3 separate regions of the Homo sapiens genome follow, and regions 1 and 2 are each linked to region 3. The links are contacts of gene promoters, found by promoter capture Hi-C in blood cells and fetal thymus (Javierre and others, 2016). All regions are on one chromosome and are shown on one strand. Each heading gives the region's core, a stretch centred on a gene start or on the middle of the fragment in contact. The rest is flanking DNA. Distances are from core to core; before and after follow the strand shown. Region 1 has its middle 9.5 kb from the start of TFB1M. Region 2 overlaps TFB1M (transcription factor B1, mitochondrial). Region 3 holds the start of ARID1B (AT-rich interaction domain 1B).

Region 1 (4,772 bases), core at 86-2,585, 1.5 Mb after region 3:
CAAAAGATCCCCTGGGATTGAGCCCCAGTTGCCCTGGAGCCCTAACATGAAACTACTCCCTAACCCCTGGAATTGGCCTTTCTCCTTTTCCCATGGCATTTTCCCGACTTCCTCACTTGTGCTTCCTGGGATTACCTCTCCAGGAGGGGCAATTAAACAAACAACCTGCATCCACACCCTTGCCTCAGGGCCTGATTTTCAGGGAATACAAACAACTGACTCTGCATTGTAGAGAAGCCCTGTTTTGCCTTGATGACACATCTAGTCTCTAATAATGGTGTCCCAAGAGGTTGTTCAGTCTGGCCTTTCTCCCTGTATACAAGCAGATTAACTAGGAAGCATGAGAAGTTGAAATGTCAGGGCCTATCACTCGAACAAGCCATTTTCAAGCCTTGGGAAGGGCTCTAGAAATCTACTCACATGGTATATGTTTTTGTAAAATTTACAAAGGCAAGACATTTTAACCCTAGTCAGTCAAGACCACTGTCTCTTTTCAGGTTGTATTCTGGTGACGGAGAGTACTTTGGGAATCTAGCTAAAGGGGAAATTGAGTTAGAAATACACATTTTAACTGAAATTTGGCAAGATGTTTCAGAACATTTCAGTAAAATAAATGTAAAATTACAGACTCCTGTTGGGAGAATATGGAGTGTTCTTTCTGCTATCTTTAAATCAAGTATTTAAAGAACTGAGAGAAAATGTCAATAAAAAAGTAATAGAGTAAGACACAAAAGCAACAGAGTGAGCAATAAAATCAATAGAAATTATTTCAATATCAAGAAGTAAATTGCAACAAAAACATTCAGCATATCAAATGCAGTCAGAAGAATAGAGTAAAAATAATGATAGGCTTATGGATTATTTGATAACACAATTAATAAACACAAGTGAGTCATGTGAATACACTGGAAAAAATTAAATACCCCAATTTTTTGACACCAAATATTGATATCAATGAATAAAATATAAACTCAAAATACATCACCACAATGAGTACACCTATGACAAACTGGTTAATGACTGTCATTAATTCAAAGTACTCAACATAGGATAGTGCACTAGAAAGCTTGAAATGCCTTGAAAACAAACAGATCATATGTGCCAAAAACTTAATAGAGGTTTCCAAATTTGAGAACAGTCCTAACAATTTACATGACATTGTCAACTATGAGTTGTGAAAGCTATATGAAATGTTTCTAAATTATCAAAAATAAAAAACAAACTGTAATCCATCATGGTAGAAGAAAGACTAAATTATCTTTCTATTCTCTCTATGGAATGTTATTCCTAAAACATTATCATATGAAGATGAAACTAAAGAATTTGCTTTCAGAAATGGAAGGGAAAAATTATCAAAGAAGTCTGAAAGTAGGAAATTCGATTAAATATTAGGCTAAATAAAATAAAATGTATTCATTTACTTTTAAAATAAAAAATATTCTATTACTTTTCAGGATGTTGTTTTTTGTGCTGTTTGTCATTAAGTATCTGTCATTTCTTGTCAGTCCTTTTCTTAGTCCAAATAAATGGTTTTGATACTTAATTTTACATTTATAATGTGGTATTCTTTTCTTAAAGAAAGCCTCCTAAATTATATAAGCTTCCAGGACCATTTCTTCCCAAAGCTTCCTCTAACAGTGAAGGCCCTTTTTCCTGTAACAAAAAAAAAGAAGCAAAATGCTCTATGTTCCACTTAATACACAAGAAAAGGACATACACCACAAGACTCCCAAAAAGCCAATGCATATAAGAGAGTGGGAAAATAGTACACAACTTTTCTCACAGGACACGAATCATTACATTTTACAATAAATTAAGTTGAGAGTATATACATTTAAATTACATGCCTACCACATTTGTTAGTGACCTGCACTGCTAGTGGTTCCCAAACTTAAAAAGCAAACAAAAAAAGTCTGTCATCTGAGTTACAAAGATAGTCATGGCAAGCGAATGAAGGAAAACTGACAGAGATAATGGATCAGTATACCATGTTACACTCTTTAGGCTTAGGCACTAATAAGAAAGTAAGACAGTGTTTTACAAACAGCAGGTCATAACCCATTATTGGGCAGTAATAATTATTATAATAAGTTTTGTAACAATCACTTTTTAAAAGGCAAATAGTTTAGAAAATAGTTTGTAAAAGATTGCTTCACACATATAGAATGTTTTATCAAACTTTTAAATGTGTGGGTGGGTGGGTGTATACATAGGGTTACAATGTAAAAGGCATTTCTTACTGTGGGTCATGGTCTAAAAAGTTTGAATAATACATATGAGAAATAAAGGGTTGGGGCCGGGTATGGTGGCTCACGCCTGTAATCCCAGCACTTTGGGAGGCCGAGGTGGGTGGATCGCTTGAGGTCAGGAGTTTTCAAGACCAGCTTGGCCAACAGGGTGAAACCCTATCTCCACTAAAAACACAAAAATTAGCTAGGCGTGGTGGCACATGCCTGTAATCCCAACTACTGGGGAGGCTGAGCCAGGAGAATTGCTTGAACCTGGGAGGCAGAGATTGCAGTGAGCTGAGATCACACCATTGCACTCCAGACTGGGTGAAGAAGCGAGACTCTGTCTCAAAAACAAAAAACCAAAAAAACCGTTGGCTGTAGATCGAAGCACAAGAGAATAAGAATAACAGGGACAGTTACAAAAACTTGGTTTGGCAATCTGCAACAAATCATTCCTAAATTCATTGGAATTTGGTAGGCATTTTTCCTATAGAAATAGGAAGTCATTAAAATATGCTTTTGTAGTTTCACCTAGGAATCCATCATGACTTAAACACAGTTTAAACTAAAAATAAACTAAACTTTAAACTAAAAACAGTTTAAGCCATAATTGGATTCCTAGGTGAAACTACAAAAGCCTATTTAACTCGTAAATAATATATAAATTATAATATGATATGCTATGATAGGGTATGATGTTTATATTATATTATGACATGATATAATAAAACATAATGCAAGATAAATGAACTGTTGTAGTTATTATAGTCCTAAGCCAGCACTCTTCTTTCCTTCCCCATAGTCCCTACCATTTATAAGACTTTTAAGCAAACGGTTTTGAAGATAATCTAAAATTACAGGATTTCCATCACAACATAATGTATATAATTTCACAACACAATTTAACATTTTATTATGATAATTCAAGATTTTATATTTTGCACCTCCACTTGATTTGGTATAATTGTTACCTAAACCTTTCTGCTGAATTAGAAACCACTGACCCTTCCTCACTCCCATCCCCAAAAAGAACAAGAAAGGTGCCAAATAGGCCTAAAATGAATAGTTTCAAAGTGGACAACAGTTAAGATCAAATGATGCACTAGTGTTAAGGTATAACATTTGTAATTCTGTCCTGAAGATAACTCTCCAGTGTTAAAATTGTCAATGCCTCTAAATAATGAAGCAAAAGAATGAAGAGTTAATATGCAACAGCCAAGCTCAATAAAAATCTGCAGAAGGAAAAATCATCTTTTATGAAAGCTACAGAATAATAAATGAGCAGTAATCTTCCGAGCTTACTTTGTCATATGTTACAACAATAAGGGAACTATATCCTGACGGTTATTTCATTTCAATACCATTAGAACATTTATTTTAATACCATACAATTTGTATGTTGATTATATATAGCTAGATCTATGTCTACTAGATGAGCATGTTCACACAGGAAGAGGGAAGGAGAAGAGAATTAATGAATTTATGAAACAACTTCAGTGTGTTAGGCACTATATTTGGTCCATTACATGCATTGTCTTATGAAGTATAATGAGACATAATACATATTTTGTAATGCTATAAGGCATCTGTTACTATTCTCATGTTACAGTCAAAGCAGCTACATTGGTTTTCTGTCGCTGATGTAACAAATTACCATAGACTTAGTGGCTCAAAACAACACAAGTGTATTATCCTATAGTTCAGTCATTTAGAAGTCTGAAATGGCTCTCACTGAGCTCAAATCAAGATGTCAGCAGGGCTGCCTTCCTTTCTGGAGGCTCTAGGGGAGAATCAAATTCTTTGCCTTTTCCAGCTTCCAGAGGATGCTCAACCTTCTTGCCTCTTGAACCTCTTCCACCTTCTTCCTCCATCTGCAAAGCCAGCAACATCAGGCCAAGTCCTTCACACACTGTCATCTCTCTGGCTCTCTCTTCCAATTCTCTTTTCCACTTTTAAGGACTCGTGATTGCAATGGGCTCACCCGCATAATCCAGGATCATTTCCCTGTCTTAAAGTTAGCTGACTGGCAACCTACACTCCATCTGCAACCTAAATTCCCTTTTGCCATGTAACCTCACATATTCACATTTTCCAGAGATTAGAATGTGAACATCTTTGGGGGCCATTTTTCTGCTTACCACAAAAACTAAGTTCCAAAAAGATTAGGTAGCTTGCCCAAGGTCACATAAGTAAAAGGAGGATGGAGCCTGGATTTTTACCCAAGTTTTCTTAACTCCAGCACCCCTGCTCTATTCAATACAGTTTGCTGTACAGTTTGTGTCTAAAACTGGCAACAATCTCCATGGTTTAGGTCTGGTCAGGAAACATATCTTGGTGCCCCTTGTGTGCCAGGCACCCTGCTAGTGCTGCATACACAAAGATGAATAAAATACGCTGTTTTCTTTGAAGAGCTGAGAGTCTGACAAAGGAGGCCCTGAAATTATATTATATTACAATGCAGTATATGATGATGCAAGTTACTATATTGCAAAATGCAACATGGATTCTGCTGGGTTTATGAATGCAGCACAACAGGACCTC
Region 2 (4,490 bases), core at 1,835-4,334, 1.5 Mb after region 3:
TTTGATTCCTCCATAATTCTAAAATTTTAAAAGAGTCCTGAACCTTTGGCTCAGATGAGAAGCAATTTATCATGTGACTATAATAGAATAATGTAGTTATCTACGTTATTACTTCCATACAAAAGGACAAATTGATTTTAAACGAGTATATTCTCATACTAACTTGTATATATATTAATGGAAAAATGTTAATTTCTGTCAGAACGGTTTGAGAAGTTGTTTTTGAAAACCTAGAACTTTGTGTGCATGTATCTGATTTTTTTAAGAAACCTAGCAGTTTTTCCCTAATCTTGCTTTATCTAGTTTTTATGCTTTAAAAAATTACATAATATTTCCTTTTATCTAGTTTTACCAGTCTATACTAACAGAATTGGTTTCAGATACTAAACTTTATGTTGAGATAGTCACATGGCACATATTCCTTGATCAAATGTGGAATTTAATAGTGATTTTTGTTTTGAACTGTGTTCTTATTTTAAGAATTATATATAAGTTGGAGGTGGACGTGGGAATATTATTATTTTTGGTGAGATCATGAGATTATAAAAAGAAACTAAATAACTGTATAATCCCCTTCGGGCTTATTCGTGTAGCCCTTTTTGGACATAGGGAATACTCACCTGACTTTTTTGCTCTTAAAAAGACTTCTTGTCCCTCATATCTCACCATTCGTTGGGTTTATTCTTTCTTATTAGGCCAGGGGGTGAACCAGATTTCCATTCATTCCCACATATTCCCCTCTTTGATATGAACAAAAGATCTTTGAAGGCAGATTGTTGAAAAGAGCGACTGCCACCCTTCTCTTCTCAGTTTCCCCCAAACCCATAAGTCACTGCGTTCCTAATTCCAGCCTTGTTTTATCTCATTCGATTTATCATCATCTGACATACTGTATATATGTTCTTCCCATTTGTTTGTTAATTGACTCACCTGTCTGGAATGTAAGTACCATGAGGGTAGAAATGTGTGTCTGTTTTGTTCCCTGCTGTACCTCTATCTCACGTAACAGTGCCTAGCACATAGCAGGTGTTCAGTAAATGTCTCACATGAGAAACAAAAAAGTTGACCACTATTTCTGCATCTGTGTATATATATACACAAATGTATATGTATCTCTCATATTAATTAAATGTATCATTAAATAGTGAAAGTAAATATTTGTGTAGCATTGATAATGAAAAAGTTTTATGCTCTTTTTTCTAAATGTGAAGGCTGATTTCAAGTTAAATTACTCTAGAGGAAATGTATATTTGACTTCTCATTTGTTTTTAGTAGAAACAAAATTAATTCTTAGTATCTTATATGCAGGAAAGGAATTTGCCTTAAAAAGAAATGTTGGGTACTAAAATATCAAATAGGCCTTTTTTTCCCCAGTGAGGAATGTTTCAATATGTAAAACTACTTTGTTTTAGAGGTACTAAATTAATCATAAAACTGAGTAAAAGCAGAAAGAAGGTGATCTATTTTAAGGATACCATTTTAGTGATTTCTAAGCTAATAGAATTACTTTTTAAAGAAATTGTAATAATTTATAAAATACCTTCTAGCTGAAAGCCTGTCATTTGTAGCTTAATTCAATTCCTACAGTATTTTCATGAGGCAGTTTAGGGGAAAGAAAAACTGGTGCTAACATACAGGATTCATGCTCAGCATGTTATAAAGGTAAGAAAAACATGTCTAGTATGTTTAGTATAGTATAGTTTTGTGGTAAAGACGCAGACTTCAGCATCAGACTGCCTGGGTTTAACTTCAGATTCTACTACTAGTTGGGTGACTTTGGGTAGGTAATTTTGTCCTCTGTGCCTCAGTTTGCTCTTAGGACTCATATGAGGATTCAGTGTATGCCTGATACTTAGAAAGCACTGAATAATATCTTAGTTATAAGTAATCAGTTAAATTATTATCCCCATGCCTTGATTACCTCTGGTGATTAATGACTGATCAGGAGACTGCTGATCTGGAAAGAGGTATAGGAGGAAGTCGTGTTATTCCATTGGAGCACTAGAAAATTCTCCAGTGCTATGGAAACATTGGGGTGTTTTCCAACTCATCAAACTTGCATTGGACACCTAGGGTTTCTTTTCTTGATGTTGTCACATTCTGATTGTGCATTTCTAGGTTTTTAAGTTTTTCGTTGTTTCTTGTTACATTTTTATGACTGACTGGATTCTCTGTGCTGTGGAGAGGAGTGAGGAGATTTCCTGAATCTCAAGGAGCTTGAGGCCTTGATAGGTTTTTCCTCTTTCTGAACTGGAAATAACTTAGATTTCCTGACATCTCAGGGAATTTGAAGCTTTGATAGGTTCTTCTCCATTTGTGAACTGGAGATAAATTCGTAAATCACTCGTACCCTTTCAGAGAAGTAGTACAGATTTCCTCTCATTTTTTTTTTTTTTCTGTTTATTTTAGAGCAAACCTGTGCAACACACGGCCCACGGGCTGCCTGCGGCCCAACACAAATTCTTAAACTTTCTTAAAACATTATGAAATTTGTTTTGCATTTTTTTTAAGCTCATCTGCTATCGTTAGTGTATTTTATGTGTGGCCCAGGACAGTTCTTCTTCCAGTGTGGCCGAGGGAAGCCAAAAGATTGCAATTGCACAGCACTGTTTTAAAGGCTTCATATATTAAAAATAATAATAGCTAATATTTATGGAGAGTTTATCACAGTAAATACTTTGTGATATGGTTTGGCTCTGTGTCCTCACCCAAATCTCCTCTTGTAGCTCCCGTAATTCCCATGTGTTGTGGGAGGGACTCAGTGGGAGATGATTGAATCATGGGGGTGGGTCTTTCCTGTGCTGTTCTCATGATAGTGGATGGGTCTCACAAGATCTGATGGTTTTAAAAATGGGAGTTTACCTGCACAAGCTCTCTCTTTGCCTGTTGCCATCCACGTAGGATGTGACTTGCTCCTACTTGCCTTCCGTCATGATTGTGAGGCCTCCCCCAGCCATGTGGAACTGTGAGTCTAAACCTCTTTTGTAAATTGCCCAGTCTCGGGAATGTCTTTATGAGCAGCAGCATGAAAACGAGCTAATACACTTTGTTTTACAGCTTTGTTGAGATACAGTTGATGCTCAGTAAACTGCACATACTTAAAGTGTACAAATTACTGAGGATTTGTCTGTGTGTATATGTGTGTGTGTGTGTGTGTGTGTGTGTGTGTATGTGTTTGAGACATGGTCTCACTCTGTCACCCAGGCTGGAGTGCAGTGACACAAGCACAACTCAACAGCTCACTGCAGCCTTGACCTCCTGGGCTCAAGCAATCCTCCCACTTCAGCCTCTTGAGTAGGTGGAACTACAGGTGCACACCACCATGCCTGGCTGAGTTTTGTATTTTTTTGTAGAAATGGGATTTCACCATTTCTACATGGTGGTCTCAAACTCCCGGGCTTAAGCAATCTGCCCACCTCAGTCTCCCAAGATGCTGGGATTACAGGCAAGAGCCACCGCGTCCAGTTAACTGAGTTTTGACATATATGTGATTGCATGAAACCATTATCACAATCAAGAAAATAAACACTCATCGTCCTCAGGATTCCTCATGTTTCTTTGTAATCTGTCCCTTCCTTCCCCCTTTATCTATCTCAGACAACCACTAATCTGCTGTCACTGTAGATTATTTTTTATTTTTCAGAATTTTATATAAATGGAATCATACAATATGTACTTTTTTTTTGGTCTGGTATCTTTTACTTAGCATAATTATTTTGCAGTTCATCCATGTTGAGGTGTTTATCAGTAGTTTGCTCCTTTTTATTGCTGAATAGCATTCCATTTTCTGAATATACCAAATTTGTGAATCTATTCACCTGTTGATAGACTTTGGGTTTTTCCCTTTTTTGGCTCTTATACTGTAATAAAGCTTTTATGAACATTCATATGCAAGTGTTTGTGTGGATACACACTTCCATTTCTCTTGAGTAAAGACCTAGGAGTAGAATATCCGGGTCCTGTGTAGAATATCCGGGTCCTGTGGTAGACGTATATTATACTTTTTACAGAAATACCAAATTGTTTTATAAGATGACTGTGCCATATTACATTCCCACCAGCTGTATTTCAGAGCTCCCATTGCTCCACATGCTTGCTCAGACTTGGTATGGTCAGTCTTTTTAATTTTAGCCATCCTAGTGAATATGTAATGGTATCCTCTTGTGGTTTTTATTTGCATTTCCCTAATAGATAATAATACTGGACATACGATGTGCTTATTTGCCATCTTTGTATCTTCTTTGGGGAATTATTTGTTCAAATATTTTTAGTACTTTTACTTTTTTTGTCTTATTGAATTTTAAGAGATATTTATATGGTTCAGATGTGAGGCTTTGTCAGATACAGATTTTACAAATGTTTTCTCAGCTGTGGCTTACCTTTTTATTTTCTTAACAATGTCTTTGAAGAACAGAAGTTTCATGTTTATGAAGTGCAATTTATCAGTTTTTTCTTCTAGACTTTATGCTTTTTATGTCTTATTTTTAAAA
Region 3 (4,738 bases), core at 1,473-3,972:
TTATTATTCCTACCAGCAAACGTTCGAGCTCGAAGCCCGCACCGAGTGTCTCTGAATGGCTCTCCCTAAGTAGGAAAAACCCACTCGCTTGTCACAAAGCTAACCTATTTTCCCTGCCTGGACCTCGGAAGCCAAGAGGGAACGTGCTGTGGCTAAAGGTGTGAGAAAGTTCCTCATTCTTTCCCCCGTTAAAGCACATTGTGGGCGCTCCCAGAACCGATCGGGTGGCTCTTCGCCCCAGCCGTCCTGGCCGGGAGAGCCTATTTGTTACAAAAGCACCCGAACGGTCCCCGCCGCCCCAAACGGCGACCGCGCGGGTGGCGCCTCGGGATCTCGCTTCGCGTTCCCGGGCCTGGGGGAGGGGGGGGACGCGGGTGCGGGCCGGCGGGGTAGAAGCCACCCGGCCCGGCCCGGCCCGGCGAAGCCCTCCCAGGCCTGGACAGCGCGCCGGCCCCCGGGGCGCCCCGACCGCGGCGGGAGGCGGCCGCCCGTCAAGATGGCTTTGGGCGCCGCGCCCCCGCCGCCCCCGCGGGAAGACGGGGAAAAGTACGCGGCAAAGAAAGAAACTCAGGCTCGCGGCGCGGCGAGGCCGCCGGGCGGAAGCAGGCCCGGCTGGCGCGAGGGTTACCTGGGATCTGCCCATGGTCGGTCCGGGGGTGCCGGGGCTCATCGCCGGGTGACTCCTTTGTTGCGCGGCCGCCCAGGCCGGGCTGGCAGCGGCGTACTGGGCGCCCATGTCCTTGCCCAAGCCCATGCCCGCGGCCGCCTGCTGGCCGCCCGCCGCCGCCCCCGCCGCCGCCGCCTGGGACTGGGGCTGCGACGGCGGCGGCGGCGGCGCGCTGGGGCTGCTGTACTCGGGGTAGCTGCCGCCGTAGCTCCGCATCATGGGGCTGGGCGAGGTGAGCAGCTGATTGAGGGTCGGGGTGGCCCCCGACGGGTGCTGGTTCTGGCCGGCGAAGCGCTGGAAGCCCCCCGCCGCCGAGCCGGCGGCCGCCTTGCTGAGGCTCGCGGCCCCGCCGCCCCCGGGGCCCATCATCATGCCGCCGCCCTGCTGCCGGGGGGAGCTCAGCACCCCGTACCCCGCGGACGAGCCCCCATAGCCGCCGCCGCCGCCGCCTCCTGCTGCTGCCGCCGCCGCCGCGGCCGCCGCCGCCACAGCTCCCGCTCCTGCTCCTCCTGCTCCTGCTCCTCCTCCTCCTCCTCCTCCTCCGCTGCCTCCTCCTCCTCCGCCGCCGCCGCCGCCGCCGCCGCCCGCGCCGGGCCGGCTGTAGCCCGGATAATGGTTGCACTGGCTGTTGGGGTACCCTTCGTGGGAGTTCTGCAGGGGGTCCATGCTGCCGGGGGCCCCGGCGGCGGCGGCGGAGGCGGAGTGCATCATCCCCATCCCGGGGCTTTGTTGTCCGCCATGTTGATCAAAGCAAGGCCCAGCGCGGCCGCCGGGGCCGCCGCTCGCAGGGGCAGCGCTGCCATAGTAATTATTAAACTCCGGGACGGCCGCCGGGCCGCCGCCGCCCCCGGGCACGGCGACCGGCGGCTGCTGCGTGCCCAGGGCGCCCAAGCCCGGGTGCTCGTAGCGGCCGCCCGCCGGCTCCCCCATCTTGGGCGGCGCGTCGTCCTCGTCGCCCGGCTTGCTCAGCAGCGGCGGGCCCGGGGGGTCGGCCTGGCCGCCCGCAGCACTGTCCTTGGCGCCTCCATGTTGCGGCTGCTCCATGTCGGGGCCGGGCTGAGGCGCGCCGCCGCCCGCGCCGCCCAAGCTGTTGTTGTTGGAAATGGGATGTTGCTGTTGCTGCTGCTGCTGCTGCTGCTGTTGCTGCTGCTGCTGCTGCTGCTGGAACTGGTTTAGCTGCTGCTGTAGTGCGTGGTGGTGGTGGAGGTGGTGGGCATGGTGGTGGTGGTGGTGGGCATGGTGGTGGTGGTGGTGCTGCTGGTGGGGCGGCGCGGCGGGGGCTTCGCCAACGGTTTTCAGTTTGTGGTTGGGGAGCAGCCCCGTCTCCATGGCCGAGCCCGGGCCCGACGAGGAGGAAGAGGATGCCGCCGCTGCCGCCGCGGAGGAGGAGGAGGAGGAGGACAGCGCGGCGGCGCTTCCACCCTCCTTGAGAGCCGCCTCGGAGCCGCCGCTCTTGGCGCTGTGGGTGCCGGCGGCGGCCGCGGCGCCCGCGTTATGGGCCATGTTGAGTTCGTGACGGGGGAGCAGGGGGTGGTGGTGCACACTGTTCAGGCCGCCGCCGCCGTCGCCGCCGCCCCCCAGCATGGGTCCCGGTGCCGCCGCCGCCGCCGCCGCGCCGCGCGCCCCCGCCTCCAGGTCCCGGGCTCCGGGCGCCGGCCGCGGCCCGGGGGGCGCCCGCCGTTCGCCGCTGCCTGCCCGCGCCCGCGCCCGCGCCGCCGCCGCCGCCGCCGCCGCTGCTGCCCGCGCGGCCATGATCGCCGCGGCGTGGCGAGGCCGGGCGGGGGGCGGGGGGAGACAATAACCCCCACTTTTCAGGCCGCGGCCCCTCCTGTGCGCATCCACGCGGCCCGCCGGGAAGCCGCGACCCCCTCCCCCTCCGCAGGCCCCGCCGGAGCGCCGGGCCGGGCACGCCTTACGCTCTGGGCCTGCTCCTGCTGTGTGCTTTCATGGTGAAAGTTTTTAGTTCAGGTTTAAATGAAACTTTTCTCTTTTCCTCTCTAGCCCGGATATGGGTAAATACACGACTAGCTGAGCCTATCGGGCCCAGCATGGCTTGAGAGGCAGCGGGCGAGCTCGAGCAACTATTATCCACTTCGCTCGCATTACTCCCGCGCACTCGCAAAACGCGGACTGGACTCGTCCCCGGGCCGCCGCCGCCCGCCCCGGCGCAGCCTCGCGGGACCCAGCCGGGCTTGGGCTAAGGCTGGGGCCGGGGCCGGGGCCGGGGCGGCTCGGCGGCCGCTCGGAGCGCGGCGGCGTGGGGCGGCCGGAACCTGCACTTTCCCCCCGGGCCGCTGTCTCCTTGCCAACCGGGCGTTCGCATGTTTGTTTTCACGTCTAAAAGGAACGATACAAAGGTGGAAAACGAGTCTGACGAGCAGACAAAAGAGGGAGAAGGGCTGGGAAACAAAGTTGTCTATTGGCCTCAGAGGTTACAAGGAGCCGACGGAGAAAGAAAATATTTAGGCAATCTGCAAAAGCACGGTCTCTCCCAGGAGTTATGTAATTTTCAGAACGTTCGCCTCTGCCTTGATTTCGGGCCATCGGCGTAATTCCCACAACTTCTTCCAACTGCAAAATTAGGAAAGATTTGAAATGAAGGTTAGCCCCGGTCAGAGAGCCCTATGGCCTGTACCCAGTAGGTACTCAATAAATGCTTATGACTGACTGCACCCGCCCCAAAGAGAATGTTTACATAACTCTTTTTGAAGGCACCTTAAACACGTATGTAGGTTTGTCAGTGTATTTCCAAAGGAATATGTCCACGTATTCCCAAAGGAGCATTTTTCTTACATGCACTTGGATGTCCTCTGTGGAGTATGTACAGTGGTGTTTTCTGCGCCAACTTTCACATGAACATTTAACTCTTGGTGCCAGAACAGCGACAGCTATGGGTTAGCTCGTATCTTCATAAATCTATATGACACCTTTCATCATGTTTCAGAGCTTCGTGTGCACAGTTAACCCTCTCGATATACATTCATTTCAAAGAGATGTGGAACGAAACTAAAATATTATAGACATTATATTTAATAAATATAACTTCAATAATAATATAAAACAGTCAACTCTAGTCCTAATGTAGAAATGTTCCATACTTTGTTCTCTTAAAAATTGGTGTCTATTAACATTTTATAATGTTTTTAATATTTGCATTGTTATTAATGTTTTCAATATGTGCATTGTCCCCTAGTAACATTTTAAAAAGCAAGACTTCTTAACCTTAGGCAATGACCCACTTGTACTAGTGTGGACTCAGTTTTCATTGAGAGAAAGCATTTAAAACCTGGCAGAAACAATACTTACGGTTTTGGTAGAGTATAGTTTTCCAAAATTATTTCATTCTTCAGCTTTCCATAAAAACTATTTTAGTTCATTTCCACTGCAGCAGTGGTTATTTGTTTGACCAAGTGTAAATATGTTACATGACTAAATAGAAAAGGATTGATGGGAAAACTGGTGACTAATTGGGGTCGGGGGGAGGGAATCAGGTGCACACCCAAGGGTCATTATAGAGTGTAGAAACAACAAATTGCAATTCTACGCAAACAACTGGAAAACGGGATATATCATCGTGTGTTAGAGAGAATAACAGAACCATAAGATGAATTCGTGCCAAATCATTCATCAGTTTTTGCCAAGAGAATACTACATCTTTGTTAGTGTGCCTTTTTGACATTTTTTCCTGGATTTTCTCCCTTTATATATTCAAATACATACTAATTATACGCATTACACCACAGAAGTTGAATTTTTAGTTTTTCATATGCAAATATAAATATATGTCTGTTTTGTGTGTATATACATATATTCTAAAATCAATTACATATTTATGCTTTTAGACATAGTCAAACTAAGTATGTACACATCATCCTAAAAGTGCATTTTTTCAAATTGATAAAATATATCAAAGTCAGTTCATACAAGTGTAGCCATATGTTGTGGCTTATTTTCACAACTAATCCTAAAAGGGAAAATGAGTCACCAAGTTCAGCTATGGCCCTTTTCCTTAAAATATTTTTTCATATTGGCAAATCGTGAAACTAAAAAAAAATTAGTAGAGAAGTCAAA

The links. Contacts are between HindIII fragments. The CHiCAGO score rates a contact against its expected background, and 5 or more counts as called.
Region 1: a fragment that was not itself captured here is called in contact with the fragment with the promoter of ARID1B in region 3 in 2 of 17 cell types (naive CD8 T cells and M0 macrophages); the score reaches 6.0 in naive CD8 T cells.
Region 2: a contact is called between a fragment that was not itself captured here and the fragment with the promoter of ARID1B in region 3, in 1 of 17 cell types (monocytes). The highest score is 5.8, in monocytes.

Annotation. Positions count from the first base shown.
Region 1 is chr6:155,321,549-155,326,320 of GRCh38, reverse strand. No RefSeq gene overlaps it. Among named protein-coding and RNA genes, the nearest start is that of TFB1M, 9.5 kb to the right of the region's middle. The HindIII fragment of the contact is 534 bases long and covers 1,069-1,602 here.
Region 2 is chr6:155,305,816-155,310,305 of GRCh38, reverse strand. The region is part of intron 2 of TFB1M (transcription factor B1, mitochondrial); the gene reads left to right. Among named protein-coding and RNA genes, the nearest start is that of TFB1M, 6.4 kb to the left of the region's middle. The HindIII fragment of the contact is 1,578 bases long and covers 2,296-3,873 here.
Region 3 is chr6:156,775,362-156,780,099 of GRCh38, reverse strand. ARID1B (AT-rich interaction domain 1B) reads right to left here and starts at 2,722. Exons shown (of 20, transcript NM_001374828.1): 1 at 629-2,722. The coding sequence starts at 2,419. LOC115308161 (a long non-coding RNA gene) reads left to right here and starts at 1,582. Exons shown (of 2, transcript NR_163974.1): 1 at 1,582-1,854; 2 at 2,669-3,740. MIR4466 (microRNA 4466) reads left to right here and starts at 369; the gene lies at 369-422. RefSeq lists silencers at 1,469-1,698, 1,949-2,018, 2,089-2,238, 2,389-2,628, 2,649-2,998 and 3 more and an enhancer at 970-1,505. The HindIII fragment of the contact is 6,833 bases long and covers 1-4,738 here.